Linked DNA regions of Homo sapiens: regions 2, 3, 4, 5 and 6 are each linked to region 1. The links are contacts of gene promoters, found by promoter capture Hi-C in blood cells and fetal thymus (Javierre and others, 2016). All regions are on one chromosome and are shown on one strand. The core of a region is centred on a gene start or on the middle of the fragment in contact, and the rest is flanking DNA. Distances in the headings are between cores, read along the strand shown. Region 1 holds the start of SNX20 (sorting nexin 20). Region 2 has its middle 17 kb from the start of CNEP1R1. Region 3 overlaps HEATR3 (HEAT repeat containing 3). Region 4 has its middle 31 kb from the start of TENT4B. Region 5 has its middle 14 kb from the start of TENT4B. Region 6 overlaps TENT4B (terminal nucleotidyltransferase 4B).

Region 1 (3,659 bases), core at 452-2,951:
GGAGTTCAAGACCAGCCTGGGCAACATAGTGGCCATGATGGTCTATCCCTCCAGAAACAAAAAAAATTTATTAGCCAAGCATGGTGACGTAACTGTAGTCTTAGCCACTCAGGAGGCTGAGGTGGGAGGATCATTTGAGCCCAGGAGTTCTAGGTTGCAGTCAGCTATGATGGTACCATTGCACTCCAGCCTGGGTGATAGAGCAAGACCCCATCTTTAAAATAATTATAATAATGACCATATCAAGTGCAGGTAAGAAGGTGGAGCACCTGGAATTCTCATATACTGCTGGTGGGAATACAAAATGGCACAGCCACTGTGGAAAATATTTGGCGTAATCTAGCACAGTTGAAGCTATCTATACTCTGAGACCCAGCAATTTCACCTCAGATAAGTACATGGACTTGGATAAATGTGTAAGAATATCATCAGTGGCATTGATCATGATGGCCACCCTAGGAACAACCCAAGTGTGCATCAAAAGACAAAACAAAAAATGACAAATGGTGATGTATTTAAATAATGAAGCAACAGAAAACCAAACACAGCATGTTCTCACTCATAAGTGGGAGTTGAACAGTGAGAACACATGGACACAGGGAGGGGAACATCACACGCTGGGGCCTGTCAGGGGTGGGGGCCAGGGGGAAGGAGAGCATTAAGACAAATACCTAATGCATGCAGGGCTTAAAACCTAGATGATGGGTTGATAGGTACAGCAAACCACCACGGCACATATATACCTATGTAACAAACCTGCAGGTTCTACACTGGTATCCCAGAACTTAAAGTAAAATAAATAATAATAATAATGTAGCAACACAACAATGGAAATGAAAAAAAGTATCTACACAGAAATGCATCAGTGAATCTTATACCCATAAATGTTGCATGAAAGAAGCAAGGCACTGGAGAATACACACAGTATGCATGGTTCAATTTATATAAGATTCACAGATGAGTAAAATGAAACTGAATTGTTTGGGGATCTCATAGGTGGTAAATTTCTAAGGAAAAGCCAAGAAGTAACCCCCATCTGAATCAGGACTGTGACTGCCTCTAATAGGGAGGAAGGGAATCATGGCTCAAAAAAAAACACATGGCAAACTTCTGGGCGAGCCAGCAAAGTTCTATTTTTTTTTTTTTTGTCTGATTTCTGTTTCTTGCCTTCAAGGCCACAAAGATGGGTGGGCATGAATCACACCACACTGCCCTGGGGTTTCGCTTCCCTGGGACTTTCTGTTGGTGGTGATGGATACAGCTTTGCTCAGAGAAAAGGCACCAGATGGAACTGTAATTCTACCCCACTGCTCTTCTATGTCAGTCACTGGCTCTGTGTCCCACCAGCTCTGTGATCCAAGCCTCGGTTTTCCCATCTGTTCAAGGGGCATGACGGCCCCCATCATGCCTAGCTCATAGAGTAGAATAATGAATGTTAAAGGGCTCTGGGAGCTAATGCCTGAATTCCAGAGATCAACGGGGACTCGAAGGACAGCCAGACCTCTGCAAGGCGGCAGGGAAAGTGAGGCTGAGCTAAATCCCACAGGGCTGGCCCCACACCGCCTTGCCCTTCCCTGCGCTACCCGGAAGAAGAGGTGGGTACAGCTGGCAGGCTGGCAGTTGAGTTCAATATACCATGTTTCACCAGCCAATGGGCTGGGGCGATCAGAAGCAGGTCACACAGCCTGTTTCCTGTTTTCAAACGGGGAACTTAGAAAGTGGCAGCCCCTCGGCTTGTCGCCGGAGCTGAGAACCAAGAGCTCGAAGGGGCCATATGACACTCCTCCCGGACCCCTGGACACACACAGCCCTGGAGACTGGAGGTCAGTATTTGATCCCAAGCTCAGCTGTCCTCTGCCTGCTGTGGCCTGAGTCCCCTTCTCCTGGGGCCCTGCCTGGCACCTGCTGGGGGCAGGGTGGGAGGGGGAAGAGTTAGTGACAGCCACTGTGTCTGGAGCTCTCCTTAGCACACTGAGGCAGAGGAAGGGACAGCTCCTGGACCTTCCATCACCTCCATTCCTTTTGAAATGCTAGGCGCTTGTACAACCCATCTTGGGCCTGGAGAATAAGTCACCACACCTGTGTTTCTCAAAAGAACAGTGTCAGGGAACCCCTGCCTCAGCACAGCCTTAGAGGACTCATGGAAAATGCAGAATCCAGGCCTGTTCAATGGCACCTTCCTATGTTAGCAGCCAGGAAACCTGCTCTTGGACAAGCCCCTGGGATCCCACCCCCACCCCACCAGGGGATTCTTACACACACTGGGTTGGGAGCCCCTGGCTTTGGCAAGGCTTCTCAGGTGAGCGTCCAGTTGTTGGAGGGTACCCACCCTTTCCCCAAGAGAGGCAGCCACACATCCAACATCCTGGGATCTCTGTCTCCCAGCGTGGGCCATGTGCTTTATTTCACCCCCTAGAGGCTCATCCCCCATGAAAAGTCCTCCGCAGGCCCTCAGAAAGATAGTGTGGCCTCTGTGTGCCCAGCAGAAGAAGGACTGGACTTGGCAGTCAGCTCTTGGAGAGGGGGTGGTTAGGACACCTGGGGACAGGAGGAGGAGAATGACTGTCTGTGCACACACGGCTGGAAGGCAGAGGAGGCTGGGAAGCTGCTCTGTCCCCTGGGCCAACTACAGGCCCCCAGGCCAACAGCAACAACACTTTTAGTATTTTGTTATAAAGTCAAGAAATCTTTGCTACAGAGGGTGAGGAGAGGGAAGGAAAGGGCCATGGAACCGTCTATGTGGCTATCCCCAGAGAGCTTTTAGAGTGACAGGATTGCTTTCCCATTTCACAGATGAGGAAACTGAGGCCTGGAGAGGGATGGGAAGCTACCCAAGGCCCCATGGATACACCAGTGCACAACTCTTTCCTTCCCCCTCCTCTTTAAATGGGTGACTCCCAATGAAACCTGTAAGAGACAACCATAAGGGAGCTGACTGTGGCTGCTGAATTTGATTTTATTCTAAGGCCTGGTTTTATAATCAGCTTTCTCAGTCTTTACTGGAGTGTCAAGCCGAGGCATCATTTCTAGGGTCTTACAGGGTCTCTGGGCCAATAGTGCCCTGCTTCTGACCTGGAGCCAGCTGCCTGGTCATGAAAGCAGATCTGCAAAGGCTGGGGCCCCTGAGGCCAAGGCCACTCGCCATCACCCATTTTACAGAAGTGCTGAGCATAGGAGTGCCCTGGGCCCCCAAGAATCCCAGCCACCAAGAATCACGTAAACCATCCACTGTCTCACTTAGGCACCAGTCAGAATGTAGGGAACCCACCCCTAGTCATCCATCATCTTATCAACAGGACGGGGCTTGTAGCCACATTTATCAGGTAGGGAAACTGAAGCCTAGAGATATTAAAGCACTTGCTTAAGGACACACGGTTGGTCAGGATGGAAGGCGATGTCTCCTGACTCCCTGACAGGCACAAGAGACAAGCGAGAGGTGCCCGTGACGGCATGCTCAAGAACGTGCAGCCCTGGGCCAGCCAGGCCCCTGCTCCGTGCCTCTGTTTGCCCATCTGTAAAAGGTGAGGTTGGATCGAGGGTCCCTGAGGGCCGCCCACTGGATGGCTGTGCAGAGCCAAACGGAGAAGGCCCCAGGGTTCCTTTCACCCGACACAGCAAGCACTTCCCCCTGAAGTGCAGGCTCCAGGCCCCAGCTGACC
Region 2 (3,659 bases), core at 741-3,240, 640 kb after region 1:
ATGCCTCTAATCACAGTACTTGGGGGGCAGAGGCAGGAGGACCGTTTGAATCCAGGAGTTGAAGACCATCCTGGGCAATATAACAAGACGCAGTCGAAGAGAAGAGGAAGAGAAGAGAAGAGAAGGAAAGAAATTCTGGAAGGAAGGAAGAAAGAAAAAAAAGAAGAAAAAGAAGGAAGAAAGAAAGGAAAGAAAGAAAGAAAAGAAAAGAAAGAAGAAAAAGAAGGAAGAAAGGAAAGAAAGAAAAGAAAAGAAAGAAGAAAAGAACAGAACAGCAGGTTCTTGCCTTCTCTAGAATCCCAAGCCCTCTATGGGAAGTAAACACTCCGACCCCTTCTGTTTCTCCTGTTATTATCTCTGTATTCCCAAATGATAAGCTATCACGCTTTCTGATTTATCAGTATCATATATTATCTTTTGATTTGCTGGCCTGATAGGTAAGGACTTAGCTCTCCAAAACTCTCTCCCACATTTCTCCTTTGCCCCACAAAATTGTACCGGAATTCTCTATTAAATCACTCTAAATTTCTAGGACAATGCAAATTTTGCTCACTGCTGAACTAAGAAGCCCACTAAACCACAATTCCTTTCTTTGTTCTTGGAATTAGTAATCGCCTTTTTTTTCTTATCCTGGTTTTCCATCAATTTGTCATTATTTTTCCCCTAATGTCCAACATCTTTGTCTATCGCTGCATACATTTAAACATACCCATTCCACTTTCTTCCTCATGGTCTCCTTCCTAACCCCATGCTGTCATCGGGACTGGGTGCTCTCTAAGGATGCGTTGTGCCTTGCATGCTGGAGTCCCATTTCCCATGTGGCTGTTAGCACGTGAAGAGATGGTAGTGATGTTCACCATGATAATGCTGCTGGTTTATTGTGGAAGATCTCAGCAGAAGTCACTGTACGTCATTTTGTTATCTCTCTCCTTTTTTTAAAAAAAATGTCTGTACCCATCCATCCACTAACTGTATGTCATTTATTGAAAGTGTATTCCATATGCATAAATTGAGTTCACATATGTAATCAGATAGAATTCAGAAACAGGGATTTCAGAAACCTAGGTCCTAGGTTGTGCAATTGCTACTATTCAAGTATCCTTTTCTGGATCTCAATTCAAATAACCCAACTCTAAAGGATACATTTATGGGACAGTTGGAGGAGTTTAAGCAGAATATTTGGTATAAAATTGCTACAAAATTATTAGCGTTTCAGGTATGATATAGTATTGTAGTTATATGTAAAATTTTTCTTAACTTTTGGAGATAGTTACTGGAAGATTTCTATATCAAGTGATGTCTGTGATTTGCTTCAAAATAATCCTTTGTGGGGGTGAGGGAGCAAGTTGAAATAGGGTAGGCTGAGCATCTCAAAACTGAAAATCGAAAATCTGAAAAGCTCCAAAATTCAAAACGTTTTTGTTTTGAGACAGAGTCCACTCTGTCGCCCAGGCTGGAGTGCAGTGGCACAATCTCAGCTCACTGCAACCTCTGCCTCCCAGGTTCAAGTGATTCTCCTTCCTCAGCCTCCCAAGTAGCTGGGATTACAGGCACCTGCCACCACGCCTGGCTAATTTTTGTATTTTTAGTAGAGACGGGGTTTTGCCATGTTGGCCAGGCTGGTCTTGAACTCCTGACTTCAGGTGATCCGCTTGCCTCGGCCTCCCAAAGTGCTGGGATTACAGCCATGAGCCACCATGCCTGGCCCAAAATGTTTTGAGTGCTAACCGGACACTTAAAGGAAATGCTTGTTTTGCAGCACTCAGATTAGAGAGTTTTGGAGTTGGAATGCTCAACCTGTAAACATAAAGCAAATATTCCAAAATGTGAAATCTGAAACACTTCTTGTCCTAAGCATTTTGGATAAAGGATTCTGAACCTGTATAAGAAACAAGATTGGCTATATGTTGATAATTGCTCAAGTTGGGTGATGGGAGTTCATTATACCACTCTCTCTATGTTTGCATGTGTTTAAAACATTCCAGAACAATTTGTTTTTAAATGGTTTTCAGGGTAGGTCAGGAAAAAAAATAAATCTGATAATTGTAGGAGACAGAATTTAAAACTCATCTTCTAGCAAGGATATATTTCTTTTTTAATTTACTTAATGAACTTACAATAGACTTAGTTATTTTAGTTTCTCTACCGTTACTTAAATTACAAATCTGAGGCCAAAGTGGGACGATCACTTGAGCTCAGGAGTTCAAGACCAGCTTAGGCAACAAAGTGAGACCCTGTCGCTACAAAAAATTAAAAAGTTAGCTAGGAATGGTGAGAGCCTGTAATCCCAGCACTTTGGGAGGCTGAGGTGTGAGGATTGCTTGATCCCAGGAGTTGGAGGCTGCAGTGAGCCATGATTGTGCCACTGCACGGCAGCCTGGGTGACAGAGCAAGACCCCAACTGAAAATAAATAAATAAATAAAATTTATGTTTTAGTGTATTTACGTATTTATATAAAAACTCAGTTTCAATACCAAAGTCAAGATTCATCCATTTGTTCAACAGCAATTGAGCATCTTCCATAGATGCCAGCACTCTTGGGTACTCAAGATACACCTATAACAAGTACTCAGAATAGCGACTCAAAAATTAGTTTGTGATTTTAAAAAAAAAGCTGGAAAGCTATCTTTTACATACATTATTTCATTTCATCCTTCTAGCTATTCTGCAAGATAGCTATCTAATAGGCCTAAATGAAATTAAGGTTCAGAGAGAATAAGTCACTTGCCCCACTGGCTAATGGAGGAAATGGGACTGTAATCCACATTGATCTGCCAAGTCTGGGTCCTTCCACTGCACGTGGCCCTGAGCTCTCTTACCTGCCAGATGGCATGAGGCTTGATTGGAAGCACTCTCATCTGTTAGATCAACTCTCCACAGCATGCTCCTGGAACACAACTGCTGTGTACCACTCTAGCAGTCAAGCAAGCAAGAGAAGCTGACTTTGAGTAAACTGAAAGCCAATTATTTAAAGGATATTGGGTACTTCAGGATTTTGGAGTGGTCTAGAGAGACTGGTTCAAGGCTAAAGTTCCAGAAGAAAAAAAATGCCCAAACCCATCTTACGGAACTGGTCGGATGAGGAAACTGATGCCACCACCACTGAGTCCCACTGAGTGCCCTGCCACGGAAACACAGCTTTACCACCTCCTCGCATGCCTGGGTCCCAAATGCAGGAGTCCAAAGTTTTCTGGGTTGTCCTGAGAGAGGATGGACTGACATAGCCAGCATTCCCCAAATCTAGCACGGGTGCTCAGAGGGAGCTGGGCAAGGCAACCACTCTGTGATTCTCTCTGTGGGATGTTCAATACATTTGCATGCCTCTTCTCCAATTAAAAAAGAGCAACTGGACAGACAGAAACCACAACAAACACTCTCTGTCCCCCAAATAATGTGAACAAGTCTTTGGTGAAATGGCAGAAAAGCAGGCAGTTTAACAGGTTTCTCTACTGCAGGGCCACTCGGGACATTCATGCATGCATTCATTCATTCGTTTGAGGCAGAGTGTCACGCTGTCGCTCAGGATGGAATGCAGTGGTACAATCATAGCTCACTGCAGCCCCGGCCTCCGGAGCTCAAGCGATCTGCCTGCCTTGGCTTCCCAAGCAGCTGGGATTACAGGCATTAGCCATCGTGCCCAGCCAACATGGAGCTTTTA
Region 3 (3,659 bases), core at 625-3,124, 600 kb after region 1:
GGCCTTTATGATATTTATGATACAGCCTTGACTGGCCTGATATAACTGGATGCAAACAATTTTAACAAAAAAGAAAATTATAAGCCCAGGAGCTGCTTGCATACCTCGTTTTGACTCTGTACCCCATGGCAACTATAAATACATGATTCCTGTGTCTGGGAAAGGTTTCTGCACATTGGATGACAAACAATATACATTTACAAAATCCAAATTCCTGCCCCTTCAAAATTCTGTTCCGTCTGCGTAGTCTTTCGCAATAAAGTCTAAATACCTGGTTGAGAAAAAAGCAGCTGTGACAGATGCTGTGCAAGCGTCTGAAGGGCTGCGGCTCCTCCCAGGTGCTCCACATCCAGGAGGGACACAAGACTCTGGAGACAGAAGAGGGCTCTGCACTGAATAGTGTTCATTCTGGAAAGGAAGTGAAACAATGCCATCTGATTCTCCAGAAGTTGCCCATCAGAATTCAGTATTAACTTTTAGCCTAAGCTTCACGTTCTGACTGGAAATATCTGTAAATACAAGGTATCTATGGCAGTTAGCAAAGAATCACAAGGTGAACTGTTTTTTGTGTTTTCTAAAATTTATCATCATTTTTTAGACAGGGTCTTACTCTGTTGCCCAGGCTGGAGTGCAGTGGTGTGATCACAGCTCGCTGTAGCCTCAACCTCCTGAGCACAAGTGATCCTCCTGCCTCAGCCTCCTAAGGAGCAGGATTACATGTGCATGCAACCACACCTGGCTAAGTTTTTTATTTTTTGTAGATAGGGGTCTTGCTATGTTGCCCAGGCTGCTCTGGAACTCTTGGCCTCAAACAATCCTCCTGCCTGTACCTTCCAAAGTGCTAGAATTATAAGGTGAACTGTTAATCTGCCAAATCAAACTGCTTGAATATTCACGGCCTCTGATACACAACTCATTCATGAGTCATGAGGAATATGTTTTAGAAAAATTTCTATGTAGGGTAGCATCCTTAAAATTATAATTTTCTTCAGACAGGGTCTCATTCTGTTTCCCAGGCTGGAGTACAGTGTCACCATCATAGCTCACTACAGCCTTAGACTGCTGAGCTCAAGCAATCCTCCCACTTCAGCCTCCTAAGTAGCTAGGACTACAGCTGAGTGCCACTATGCCAGGCTAATTTTTGTATTTTTTTTTCCTTTGTAGAGATGGGGTCTTGCTATGCTGCCCAGGCTGGTTTCAAACTCCTGGCCTCAAGTGATCCTCCTACCTTGGCCTCCCAGAGTCCTGGGATTATAGGTGTGAGCCACCATGCCCAGCCTAAAATTATTTTTAATTGTGAAATGTGACATATATACAGTTAAGTACACAACATACATAGAGAGTTTAACAAACAGTCTATGAAACCAAAACCCATGCACCTGGGAAAGAAATTAACACTGCTGGACCCTGAAAGCCCCTGTATCTCTTCCATATAATATCCCACCTCCCTGACACCTACAGGTAAGCACCATACAGACTTCTATGGTAAACATTTCCTTGCCTCTTTTTTTTTTTAATAGGTTTATCACCAAGGTATGCATCCCTGAACAAAATAGTTCAATGTTGCCTGTTTCTCAACTTTGTAAAAACTGAATCACAGTGTGTGTATTCTTTTATGTCTCGCTTTTTTGGTTCAACAATGTAAGTTCCATCCGAGTTGTGAGTAGCTCTAATTCAGATCCCTTTTACTGCTGCATGTATTGTACTGCGTGATTTTGTCAAAATTTATTTACCATTCTAACTCTGATGGACAACACGTTTGTTTATGGGTTGGGGCAACTGTGACACACACTGCTATGAACACTCTCATATACATGTATTCTAGGGCATGTGGGCACATATTTTTCTGGTATATATACCCAGGAACAAAACTTCTGGGTCCTAGGGGGAGTCAGCACCTTCTATTTAATAGCCCATCATTTCATAAAATAAAATAATGACAAATGTTTTTGAAAGCAGAAGAGTTCTTACTTTCTAATCAAAGGTTTCCAAGTAGGGTTCCTAGAACATAGGTCAACTGCAATGCTGTTTGGAAAGGCAGTTTTCTCAAAAATCTAGATTTAAAAGAGGCAGTAAAGCAAAGGTTAAAGAGTAGTCATTTAACACGATTCCCTTACATAATTCCAACATATTACTCCTAAGTGAAATGGTTAGGCTTCATATAGAATGACCTTTTCGCCTATTTCCAGTACTGTTAGGCTCAGCTTTGTCTCAGATCTTACCACCATCTACAACCTGGAAGTGTGAGCTTGCTTCTTTTGTACACAAAATGAATACCTTGCTTAAGCCTTTCCCATGCTCCACGGTAAGCCTAGAATGAAAATGGATTACCTTCTTTGGGATGAGGTAGTTGGTGAGAGCCGTGTGAACTTCATGGGAGAGGCAGAGGGGAGAAAACAGCTGTCCCCCGCACTCACTGAAGGAATTCTCCATAAATGCGTCACTTTCATCACTGCTAGAAAGCTCTTCCCATTCGTCATCAGAGGGATCTGGGAAGCGGGCAAACCACGCAGAACTGGAATAGTTAAGAAAATCTCCACGGGAGTTTCCCTCTTGGCTCAGGGGGAAAATGTCTAAATGTAAATGTTAACAAACCTTCATTGCAGCACATGTTGACAATAATTTCCAGAGCAGTCTGTTGGGCTGTCAGCAATGCTATAGTCTCTCTCAGTTCCTTGTCAGTGGGCTTAAAAAAAAAAAAAAAAGTAAATGACCAACTCTCAATGGTTGGGAAAATGTTTTTGGGGAATTTCCTTAGTGAAAGCCTACTAGAAGATTTTTGCGCTTGGAATAGAGCACACGGGGAATGGGGTAGGTAAAAGAAAAGTCATGAAGTGCCAGAAGTACAAACGAGCATTATAATTCCTCTTGGTACAGTGGAGCATGCCCCCGTTAACTGGGTTTCCATCTATCTGCATGGCTATTCCCCAAGCGTCACTTAGTTAGCTGGAGAGAACAGACAAATATTCAGGAATTCTGAACAGAATTCACCCTGAAACTTATCTACTGTGTCAAGAAGTAGCTGGGCATACTAAGATTTAAACAAGAGTTCATTTCAGACACCAGGCACTTAGAAACACCAAACCTGCTTTTAGATGCTTAGCTTAGATGTCTTTCTTGGAATGGCTGCGCTAACACACACTACTAACGAGCCCTTATGTGACCTGTAGAACTTGCTATGGAGCAGACAGACTTGCTTCCTGCCTTTCTGTAAAGACTATAATAAAGCATTTCTCTAAGACTAAAGAAAGAAGGAAGCTTTTTTTTTCTCTGAAAATATATAACGCCAACTTAAACTTAACATTATCAACCAACATTTCTTAAAATGGGTAATATAAATTTATATAACCTTAATTATCAAATTGTCTATGGAAAGTGAAATAACCATACTGATATTCCAAAACAGTACATGAGCTAAAAATAATGTATATTTTACTATTTGAATATTTCCAAACTTCAGTTTTCAATTGTCTTTTTTTTTCCCCCTTAGAGACAGAGTCTCACTCTGTTGCCTAGGCTGGAGTGCAGTGGCACGTTCATAGCTCACTGCAGCCTCAAATTCCTGGACTCAAGCAATCCTCTTGCCGCAGCCTCTGAGTAGCTAGGGCTACAGGTGCATGCCACCATGCCTGGCTAATTTTTTTAATTTTTGTAGAGAC
Region 4 (3,659 bases), core at 860-3,359, 560 kb after region 1:
AACTGCTGCATTTGCAACAATTTGTTACACAGCAATAGAAAACTAATATTGATTGGTTTGTTCATTGCTCTATCCTGAGTACATAGGACAGGATTCAAGCATACATTAGGTACTTAATAAATATTTGTTGAATGAGTATATTGTTACAGAAAAGCAAAATAGCAAACAAAGTGGGCCAATGTTATAATATGTTACCAGTCATAAGAGTGCCCTGTCTATGTGCATACACATCGTCTATCTCTAGAAGGGTATACATGGAAGTAACAGAAGACCAGGGGAGGAAAACTAGAGCATAAGAAATCCATGAAAAATTGAGACTTTCACTTTATACTCTTCTGAACTGTTATTTATTTATTTATTTATTTGAGACAGGGTCTCGCTCTGTCACCCAGGCTGGATCTGCAATGGTGTGATCATGGCTCACAGCAGCCTCCAATTCCTGGACCCAGGCAATCCTCCCACCTCAGCCTCTTGAGTAGCTGGGACTACAGGCAAGCACCACCACATCCAGCTACTTTTTTTTGTTGTTTTTTTGAGACGGAGTCTCGCTCTTTCGCCCAGGCTGGAGTGCAGTGGCACCATCTCGGCTCACTGCAAGCTCCACCTCCTGGGTTCACGCCATTCTCCTGCCTCAGCCTCCCAAGTAGCTGGGACTACAGGCGCCTGCCACCATGCCTGGCTAATTGTTTTTGTATTTTTAGTAGAGATGGGGTTTCACCGTGTTAGCCAGGATGGTCTCGATCTCCTGACCTCGTGATCTGCCCACCTCGGCTTCCCAAAGTGCTGGGATTACAGGCATGAGCCACTGCACCCAGCCACTTGTTTTTGTTTTTGTTTTCTTTTTTTTCATTTTTTTGTAGGGACGAGGTCTTGCTCTGTTGCCCAGGCTGGTCTCAAACTCCTAGGCAAGGAGGGAAAAATAAGGGAAAAGCTTGGCCCGCTTGTTTTGCATTTTACCTTGGAAAAGGCCCTCATGGCTTGGCTTGACACATGTCTGGAAAAAGAATTCCTAAAACAAAGGAAATTTTTTTAAAAGAGGAAAATAAGAATTTACCTTTCTGCTGCTTTTGTTGTTGTCATTTGTTTGTTTTGGGGGTTTTTTTTGAGATGGAGACTCACTCTGTCACCCAGGCTGGAGTACAGTGGCACAACCTCAACCCACTGCAACCTCTGTCTCTTGGGTTCGAACTATCCTCCTGTCTCAGCATCCTAAGTATCTGGGACTACAGGTGCATGCCACCATGCCCGATTAATTTTTTTGTATTTTCAGTAGAGACGAGGTTTCACCACGTTGGCCAGGCTGGTCTTGAGCTCCTGAACGCAAAAGATCGGCCTGCCTCAGCCTCCTAAAGTGCTGGGACTACAGGCGTGAGACACGGTGCCTGGCCCTTTTCTGCTTCTTTGTGATGTAGTCAAAACATAACGTGCTATTGACTCTGAAATTCTTTGTTTTTCTGGGGGAGGCCAAGGCAGGAGGGGCTCTGCAGGTACTGGATTACAGGTGTGAGCCACAGCACATGGCCTGAATTTCGTTTTTAATCTATAAATGTATCACTTAAACATGCACCCCCAAAACCAAATAGCTCCTATGACTTCCAATTTCAAGTAAAATCCCTTCTTCAGCACTTACTCCTTTACTTGGCGCTCTGCCTTCCCCATCCGGGAAACACCCTTGTCTGTTGCACCTGCCCCGTAATCCCCCTCCAGGATGTTTTGTGGTGAGCGCCTTCAACAAAAGAATAGCTACAGAATTAAATGTGTTTGGAACCACATGCACATCGTGCTTTGACTACCTCACAAAGGAGCAGAAAGGCAAATTCTGTTTCCAGTAATGTGCAAAGTCAAGCCACAAGGACCTTCTCTGAGGTAAAATGCAAAATGAAAGGGCCAAGCTTTTCCCTTATTGTGATTGTGTAACCAGCCTAACAGACATTTAATTTGAGAAAAAATTTGAATAATAATATGGAGTTACCCTGGAGTTTTGGGATGGTCTAAGAGTAAGCTTTGAAAAATGTGGCCAAAATGATTATAATCAGGGTGGGGGGAGCAATTTCTGTATTTATTTGGCTGACATGAAAAAAAAATCCAGCTGAAAATCTGCAGGCTGACAAATGGACAGAACCCATTACAGAGCAAGAAAAACTGAGTCAGAGAGGACAGGCTAGAGCTCTGGGAGGCCACACACCTTGTGCCAGAAATCGAAGCTGCCAAGCTTATCACTTACAAACCTTGTCATATCATGTTAGTGGGACGGTTTCAAATGGATAGCCCCTGATCTGTTTTGAAACTAGCCAATATAGCTGGGTGCGATGACTCACACCTGTAACCCCAGCACTTTGGGAGGCCAAGGCAGATGGATCACTTGAGGTCAGGAGAACGAGACCAGCCTGGACAACATGGTGAAACCCTGTCTCTACTAAAAATACAAAAGTTAGCCAGGTGTGGTGGTGGGCACCTATAATCTCAGCTACTCAGGAGGCTGAGGCTGGAGAATTGCTTGAACCTGGGAGGAGGAGGTTGCAGTGAGCCAAGATCGTGCTACTGCACTCCAGCCTGGGCGACAGAGCAAGACTCCATCTCCAAAAAAAAAAAGAAAAAAGAAAGAAACTAGCCAATATAACCAACTTAAAATATAATGGAAGTCATTTCTCTTAGGGCTATAGAGAATATGTGAGACACAGTGAGTGGACTGTTTCTTGTGATCACATCTTATTTACCTTCAGTAATTAGCAAGGGACTGTGACCACAGCAATACAAGATTATTGACCTGTTCAAAGTTCTAAAACAGGACCTGAAAAACACAACCATAATTAATGTTGAATGATTAATCAACATCTATGTGTTGATGGCTGAAAAACCTTGAGTTATAAGATATTATCTCTGTCTAGCTTTTTAAATCATAATTAGTTTTTTTTGTGTGTGTGTATGTGTCTGTAAGACATTACAATTTTGCCTAGCACAGTGGTGAGTCCCTATAGTTCCAGCCACTCAGGAGGCTGAGGCGAGAGGATTGCTTGAGTCCAGGAAGTTCAAGACCACCCTGGGCAACATAGTGAAACTCCATCTCAAAAAAACAAACAAAGCAGCTATAAAATATTGCAGTTTCTCACAGGTGACACTATGGCTACGTCTGCTTGATTATTCAATCTGTTCAAGCCGGACAAGTTGTCAACGTGGCTACAAGTTCATGACTTTGGATCCTATGAAGATCAAAAGTTATGCTTAGGCCAGGCAAAGCTCACACCTGGTAATCCCAGAGCTTTGGGAGGTCAAGCTGGAAGGATCACTTGAGGCCAGGAGTTAGAGGCTGCAGTGAGCTATTATTGCACCACTGCATTCCAGTCTGGGTGACATACATAAATAAATAAGGTGGCACACAGCCTCTTGGCCACAATAACATCCTTTTCAAGAAATATCTGGGTACTTGACTAAATAGCTGTCTTTGCCTTTCATTCATTCATTCATTTATTCATTCTACCAATATTTAACACTGGGGTGCAAGGAGGCATAAGTAAGGACTGTTACTCACAGTCCGGTGGTCCATGGGTTTGTGGGTGTGTCTTCCAGCCAATGTGTCATTGTAGCCAAATCTTTTCTTAATTGGTTGGAGTGCGAGCTCCTGGAGAAGAGACACAAAGGATGGGTAACTCAAGTGGGGA
Region 5 (3,659 bases), core at 492-2,991, 540 kb after region 1:
CAGCCCCATCTCAGGGAATTAACTCTGCATTGCCTGAGGAAACTGTAAAGGCCTCCACTGAGGCAGTTGACAGGCAAGACTATGCTGATTCTGTTACGGGACCACCTCAACAACCCCCTTTGCTTCTAGACCTGTAACTAGACCCAAGTACCAGTAGGTCCCTAAGGCGAAGTACAAAGTGTGACCCAAGAGGAGGGATGCGATGCTCCAAAAGAACTACAGCAGTCCCCCCAATCCATGGCTTTGCTTTCCACAGTTTCAGTTACCCACAGTCAACCATGATTCAAAAGTATTAAGTGGAAAATTCCAGAAGTAAGCAACTCATACTTTTTTTTCTGTTTTTGTTTTGTTTTGTTTTCTTTTGTTATTGAGACAGATAGGGTCTTGCTCTCCACTCAGGCTTGAGTACAGTGGTGTGATCATAGCTCACTGCAGCCTTGAACTCCTGGGCTCAATCCATCTTCCCATCTTGCCTCCCAAGTTAGCTGGGACTACGGGTGTGCACCACCAAGCTTGGCCAATTTTTTTGTTTTGTATCGTTTTGTTTTGTTTTGTTTTGTTTTTGTAGAGATGGTGGTCTCACTGTGTTGTCCACGTTGGTCTTGAACTCTTAGCCTCAATGGTGCCTCCCACCTTGGCCTTCCAAAACGCTGGAATTATAGGCATGAATCACTATGCCCAACCAACTCATAATTTCAATTGCGTGTTGTTCTGAGTAGTGTGATAAAATATCGTGTCATTGCTAAATGGACTTAGGGTTGTTTAAAAGAAATAAAGAATATAAATAAAATAACACAATAAATTAAAAAAAAAACTTACACCATCCCACCCAGGGTGCGAATCATCCCTCTGTCCAGCATACCTGCACTGTGTATGCTATTCACTCATTTTCACTTAGTAGCTGTCTCAGTTATCAGATTGACTGTCATGGTATCACAGTGTTTGTGTGCAAGTGGCTTTTATTTCACTCAATAGTAGCCCCAAAGTAAGAGTAGTGATGCTGGCAATTCAGATATGCCAAAGAAAAGCTGTCAAGTACTTCTTCTAAGTAAGGAGGTGAAAGTGCTCAACTTAATAAGGAAAGAAAAAAACTCATATGTTGAGGTTGCTAAGATCTATAGTAAGAACAAATCTTTTATCTGTGAAACTGTGAAGAAGGAAAAAGTAATGAAATTCATGCTAGTTTTGCTGTCACACCTCAAATTGCAAGTTAGACTACAGTGACTGACAACTTTCATTACAGCATGTTGTTATAATTGTTCTATTTTATTATTAGTTATTGTTAATCTCTTCCGGTGCCTAATTTTTGTTTGTTTGTTTGTTTGTTTTTGAGACAGAGTGTCACTCTGTCACCCGGCTGGAGTGCAGTGGCACAATCTTAGCTCACTGCAACCTCCACCTCCTGGGTTCAAGTGATTCTCCTGTCTCAGCCTCCTGAGTAGCTGGGACTACAGGCACACACCACCACGCCTGGCTAATTTTTTTTTTTTTTTTTTTTTTTTTTTAGGAGAGACAGAGTTTTGCCATGTTGCACCAGCTGGTCTCAAACTCCCGACCTCAGGTGATCTGCCTGCCTTGGCCTCCCAAAGTGCTGGGATTACAGGCTCAAGCCACCATGCCTGGCCTAATTTTTTTTTTTTTTTAGTGCAGTCAAGGTCTTGCTATGTTGCCCAGGCTGGTCTCAAAGTCCTGGGCTCAAGGGATCCTGTCTTCTCAGCCTCCCAGCATCCTGGGATTACAGGCTTGAGCCACCACACCTGTCGTAGAGCCTTTCTAACTCCCTAAACTGAAGAATTAAAGGCAGAATCTCTGCTTAGTGGGCCCAAATCAATTAATTTAGCCTGACCCAACCTTATGTTCTTTCCACCATCATCGCATACCCTTAGTATCCATTCTCACACATGCTCTCCCATTTCTGTCCATATAAATTAGAAAACTCAAGTAGAGTAGTCCCCTCTTAGCCTAAGGGAATATGTTCCAAGACCCCCAGTGGAAGACTGAAACTGTGGTTAGTACCGAACCCTACATATACTATGCTTTTTTCTATATACACATACCTATGGTAAAGTGTAATTTATAAATTACTTGCTGGGCACAGTTGCTCATGCCTGTAACCCCAGCACTTTGGGAGGCTGAGGTGGGCAGATCACTTGAGGTCACGAGTTTGAGACCACTCTGGCCAATATAGTGAAACCCCATCTGTACTAAAAATATGAAAATTAGCTGGGCATGCTGATATGCACCTGTAGTCCCAGCTACTCAGGAGACTGAAGTGGGAGAATCACTTGAACCCGGGAGGTAGAGGTTGCAGTGAGCCAAGATCGTGCCATTGCACTCCAGCCTGGGTGACAGAGTGAGACTCCATCTCAAAAAAAAAGCCAGCCAGGCATGATGGTGTGTTCCTGTAGTCCAAGCTACTCAGGAGGCTGAGGTAGGAGGACCATTTGAGCCTGGGAGGTCGAGGCTGCAGTGAGCCATACTCTGGCCTGGCTGATAGAGTGAGACCCTGTCAAAAAACAAACAAACAAACAAAAAGGCCAGGCAAGGTGGCTCACGCCTGTAATCCCAGCAGTTTGGGAGGCTGAGGAGGGCAGATCATGAGGTCAAGAGTTCGAGACCAGTCTGGCCAACATGGTGAAACCCTGTCTCTACCAAGAATACAAAAATTAGCCAGATGTGGTGGCGGGCACCTGTAATCCCAGCTACTCGGGAGGCTGAGGCAGGAGAACTGCTTGAACTCAGGAGGCAGAGGTTGCAGTGAGCTGAGATCGAGCCACTGCACTCCAGTCTGGGTGACAGAGCAAGACTCTGTCTTGGGGGAAAAAAAAAGGAAAGAAAAGAAAAAGCTCTAACACTTCAGTTGGTTGGCTCAAACATGGAAAACATGGACCAAAACCTGGTCCATGGTGAGCAAATTGGAAATGCCGTACCTGCCTTGGTTTTATGTAGGGAAAGGAATTCAGAAGCTTAGGGAGATTGGCATGCTAGAGTGAATTTGTCATTTAAGGCCTATTCACCCACACTGGGAAGGTTCAAAAGACACACCTTTCACTAGTACCGTGAAACATAACATCATGAGGGGAGCACATCCTTGGAGAGCTCTGTGATCACCCTACTCTGTAGGCCTGGCCTTTCGATGGAAACTGCACTCACAGAATCGGGAAGCCTAAATGCAATGGGAGTCATTGGATCCCACCCCTGCCCAGAGTGGCAGGTTCCAAGTTTTGGGACTCAACCAACAGAGGCAAGGGGGGTGTGGTTGCCATGATGAACAGCAGAATCAAGGCAGCAATCAGAATAGTCTGACTCATGAAGACCTTTGGCATTGGCAAGTTTATCAGGGTGTTCCTAGAAGTGAAATATTTTCTTACTTGATCTGTATATGCAGAAAATTTCTAGGTCAGATGAACAAAAGTTTAACATGTATCATAAAAATTGATTCATAACCCCTCAGTGAATTGCTGGACATCAGCCACTTTACTGACCCAGGACCACTTGAATGAAGGGGATACCTGGACCTGTTGAAGAATAACCCCAGTACTCCTAAAAATCTATCTTTGTGTGTGTGTGTTTTGTTTTGTTTTTGTTTTTGCTTTTGAGACAGAGTCTCACTCTGTTGCCCAGGCTGGAGTGCAGTAGCTGGGATTACAGGTGCCCAC
Region 6 (3,659 bases), core at 743-3,242, 530 kb after region 1:
TATCTTACTCTACATATTAAAGAAATGTCCATGTCATGTGTAAGAGGGAACACATAATAAAAGGAAAGTTAAACATAAGTGGGCTATACCAAGAGCATGAAGTGAGTACCTTTGAGAGTTCAGAGGAGAAACCAAAAACATCAAGGACTTAGGCAATGCAAGAGGTCAGCATTCTAAATAAATCAACCAATTTGGTGGAAGCAGAGAACACAAAAGACAGCTGCGAGAGACTATATAGCTGTCCCATGGTTCTAGTCCATTTTCACATGCTTTCTGGTCTCCTCTCCCCATCTGGACTATCAGTTCAGAGGCCAAGAACCACCACAATGTGTTAACCTATTAGCTAACTATCAGTCACATCTTAAGAATTCAGAAAACAATGGTAACAGTTTTAGTATATTTAATCTCAGAACAGCATAACATCGAGGTGCACTCTGAATTCAGATTTTTTTAAATACCTATATTAAAAATAGAAAAACTTTCTAAAGTTAAGAAATAAGGATACTGGCGAGAATGGTGGCTCATGCCTATAATCCCAGCACTCTGTGAGGCCAAGGTGGGAGGACTGCTTGAGGCCGGTTGAAGACCAGCCTAGGCAACAAATGGAGGCCCCATCTCTACAAAAAGTAAAAATAAAAAAATTAGGCAGGTGTGGTGACATGTGCCTGTAGTCCCAGCTACTCCAGGAAGCTAAGGCAGGAGGATCACTTGAGCCCAAGAGTTAGAGGATACAGTGAGCTATGATCACGTCACTCCACTCCAGCCTAGGCAGCAGAGTGAGACCCAGTCTCAAAAGAAAAAAAAGAAATCAGGATAATGAGGCCGGGCACGGTGGCTCATGCCTGTAATCCCAGTCCTTTGGGAGGCCAAGACGGGCAGATCACCTGAGGTCAGGAGTTCGAGACCAGCCTGACCAACATGAAGAAACCCCGTCTCTACTAAAAATAAAAAATTAGCCAGGCGTGGTGGCAAGCGCCTGTAATCCCAGCTACTCGGGAGGCTGAGGCAGCAGAATCGCTTGAACCTGGGAGGCAGAGGTTGCGGTGAGCTGAGATCGAGCCACTGCACTCCAGCCTGGGCAACAAGAGCGAAACTCCGTCTCAAAAAAAAAAAAAAAATCAGAATACATGAATCAAAGCAAGAATTTCTAAGCACCCAGACACTCTTAACACTCTTGGGAATTGTTTAATGTATTTTTTGAAACTAGGAGGTCTCAGAATTGAACTTTTTTTAATTTAAAAAAAAAATTAACTGCTGACATCCTCTAAGGGAGGAGGCAAAAGAATGGAAAATCTGGTGAAGTGATAAGCAGTTTTTAAAGAGGTTTACAACCAGTTTTTAAACAGTAATCCCTCCGGGAAATGAAAATTCCTCTCCTAATCCCTTTGAGGGCAATATATTTGAATCAGGAACAAGAACATCTTGCTTCTAAGTATAAATATGAACCTTTTAGAGTATCTTCTGCATTAAATAGCAAGTAGAGGAGAGGACAATTTCTAATTTATCAAAAAAAAAATAAGCATCTTGGACTTATATCTTTTGCTAGACACATGCAAAGAGGCTTCAGTAAAATGCAATTAAGGAACTTCAAGGTTTTCGTTGACAGTGATTACCTAACTGGAGCTTACTCCTGTGAAATGAAACTACCAGAAACCCTCAACATCAATTTGCTTGTCACTAAACCACAGGTTTACGCGTAGACTTGGAAATGCTAACAGGATGGAACCACAAGCCTTTAATAAAACGTGATGACCATGGAGAGCACCCTTGAAGCTTAGCAACAGAGGACTCAACCCTAAAAGGGTTCCCTTTCTGGAATGTGAGGGCAGGTTTGACATGTACCACAGCACCAGTCCTAGAACGCTTGACTGCATTTTCCACAAAAGGTAGGAGTTGTAATAGTAGCATAGAGCAGACACCAGCCCACTGGAAGCAGATGGAACCCACCAACTCATTTTATCCAGACCTTCAAAAAGGTACACAGAACTCTCTCTCTCAGCCAAAGCAGGGCAGATCTGAATGAATAAATCCAGGAAAAGGTTCACATGGGATTACTAATTGGTAATTTCATTTGCATGCTAAAGCCCTCAATGTAAAACACAACCTGAAAAATGAAAAGCAATTTGAAAGCCGGTTCTCCATACTCAAGCTACACACACACACACACACACACACACACACACACACACACCCACGAGACCCAAAAGCTTTGTTTTACAAAACAAATAAGATTCAGTGACCTATTCCAGCACAGGGACTCTTCTGAAGGGAGATCTAGTTGGAAACATTCCCTGCTTATGTACATAATTCACTAGGGGTCAGGTAAGATTCCATTTTCTAAGAGCTGAACTTTAAACAGAAAGTCACTAGTGGTGCAATATTCACTCATTAGCATAAATCTCTACCCCCTAGAATGAAAAGCATTGGCTGCCTCTGCCAGGATGACAACTTTACAGTGAGAAGCTGGAGCCGCGGACCATGAACTCCTGGAAAGTTCTATCAGGGCCTCAGAAGGGCTCACCACCTTCACCAGCCTAAACTTAGTGGTCACCCATCCCACGCCACCCTCTGCATAGACAGGGCATCTGTGACATGGGAATTTTTTAAAAATAAAAAGATGGGCCAAAGGGTCAAGAGCAGGCAATGCCTTACAGGGCTGACATAATTGCTGTCTGGGATTGGGGGATGGGGAGGAGCATTCTGGATGTTTCTATTCTTGGCAAGGAAAGCACCTCCGGGTCCTGCACCATCAAAAAACACTCACACACCAATGTTCTCAGGGAATGAATGATAGGCCCGTGCTAAGCGGTCTCATCTTGAGTTGTGATGATGGGGAAAAAGGTGTGGAGGGCTGGAGGCGGGGTGGTGGTCAAGGGTAGATGTGTTTAACTAAGGGGGATGGGAGGAGAGTGAATGGATAAAGGGGGGGGCCTGGGGAAGGTGTGGACGGTTAAGAGGGAGGGGAGGAAGGTGTGGACGACTAAGGGAGGACAGGAGACGGAGGGTGTGGACGGCTAAGGAGGCTTGGGGAAAGGTGTGAACGACTGGGGGGTTGGGGATGGCCAGCAGCACCCCCGTGCAACAGCAGCGAAGGCAGGCCGTGGGGGTGGCCGCTCCTAGACCCTCACAACCCCCCTCTGTGGGCGTGTGCCCGGCTGCGCATTCGCACCGGCCAGGCCATCGGGCCGCAGAGCCAGCACTCACCCCACGACTCCCTGGTTGTAGTTCCTCCGTTTCCACGGGGTCCCGCTGTACACGACCCCGCCGCCGTCTGCTCGGCCGCCCCCCGCGGCCCGCCCTCCGCTGGGCTGCAGCAGGCTGTAGTTGAGTCCATACGTGCTGGCCTTGTTGTCGCGCTTCCTCTTGTTGCTGCTGCCCGAGGCCGAATCGGCTGGATCGGCGGCGGGGACGGCGGCCGAAGGGTGCGGGGACGAGGACGCCGAGGGAGGCGAGGACGCCGAGGAGCCCGCCCGGCGGGCCCAGGCCCCGGGCTGGTGGTGGTTGTTGTTGTTGTTGGTCGTCTCTAGGGGCAGGAAGTCCCGCTGCTCCGCGGGCAGCGCGTGGCTGCCCAGCAGGCGCTCCCCGGAGCGATACATGCCGGCCGGGGCCGGGGCCGGGGCCGAGGCCGCGCCGCCGGGGCTGCCGGTGCTGCTGCCGCT

Evidence for each region. Contacts are between HindIII fragments. The CHiCAGO score rates a contact against its expected background, and 5 or more counts as called.
Region 2: a contact is called between a fragment that was not itself captured here and the fragment with the promoter of SNX20 in region 1, in 1 of 17 cell types (neutrophils). The highest score is 9.0, in neutrophils.
Region 3: a contact is called between a fragment that was not itself captured here and the fragment with the promoter of SNX20 in region 1, in 8 of 17 cell types (total CD8 T cells, naive CD8 T cells, total CD4 T cells and 5 more). The highest score is 9.3, in total CD8 T cells.
Region 4: a fragment that was not itself captured here is called in contact with the fragment with the promoter of SNX20 in region 1 in 3 of 17 cell types (total CD8 T cells, total CD4 T cells and naive CD8 T cells); the score reaches 7.8 in total CD8 T cells.
Region 5: a contact is called between a fragment that was not itself captured here and the fragment with the promoter of SNX20 in region 1, in 1 of 17 cell types (activated CD4 T cells). The highest score is 5.1, in activated CD4 T cells.
Region 6: a contact is called between a fragment that was not itself captured here and the fragment with the promoter of SNX20 in region 1, in 7 of 17 cell types (total CD8 T cells, activated CD4 T cells, non-activated CD4 T cells and 4 more). The highest score is 7.8, in total CD8 T cells.

Annotation. Positions count from the first base shown.
Region 1 is chr16:50,679,354-50,683,012 of GRCh38, reverse strand. It overlaps SNX20 (sorting nexin 20), which reads left to right and starts at 1,701. Exons shown (of 4, transcript NM_182854.4): 1 at 1,701-1,823. The HindIII fragment of the contact is 15,976 bases long and covers 1-3,659 here.
Region 2 is chr16:50,040,102-50,043,760 of GRCh38, reverse strand. No RefSeq gene overlaps it. Among named protein-coding and RNA genes, the nearest start is that of CNEP1R1, 17 kb to the right of the region's middle. RefSeq lists a silencer at 3,517-3,659. The HindIII fragment of the contact is 9,784 bases long and covers 1-3,659 here.
Region 3 is chr16:50,082,964-50,086,622 of GRCh38, reverse strand. It overlaps HEATR3 (HEAT repeat containing 3), which reads right to left. Exons shown (of 15, transcript NM_182922.4): 8 at 2,596-2,686; 9 at 2,332-2,489; 10 at 1,972-2,054; 11 at 272-408. Among named protein-coding and RNA genes, the nearest start is that of HEATR3-AS1, 18 kb to the right of the region's middle. The HindIII fragment of the contact is 2,772 bases long and covers 489-3,260 here.
Region 4 is chr16:50,120,026-50,123,684 of GRCh38, reverse strand. No RefSeq gene overlaps it. Among named protein-coding and RNA genes, the nearest start is that of TENT4B, 31 kb to the left of the region's middle. RefSeq lists an enhancer at 55-555 and silencers at 1,780-1,839, 2,130-2,219. The HindIII fragment of the contact is 210 bases long and covers 2,005-2,214 here.
Region 5 is chr16:50,137,057-50,140,715 of GRCh38, reverse strand. No RefSeq gene overlaps it. Among named protein-coding and RNA genes, the nearest start is that of TENT4B, 14 kb to the left of the region's middle. The HindIII fragment of the contact is 2,454 bases long and covers 515-2,968 here.
Region 6 is chr16:50,153,805-50,157,463 of GRCh38, reverse strand. It overlaps TENT4B (terminal nucleotidyltransferase 4B), which reads right to left. Exons shown (of 12, transcript NM_001365324.3): 1 at 3,205-3,659. Among named protein-coding and RNA genes, the nearest start is that of TENT4B, 2.3 kb to the right of the region's middle. RefSeq lists enhancers at 1,539-1,598, 2,458-2,507 and silencers at 3,319-3,488, 3,609-3,658. The HindIII fragment of the contact is 434 bases long and covers 1,776-2,209 here.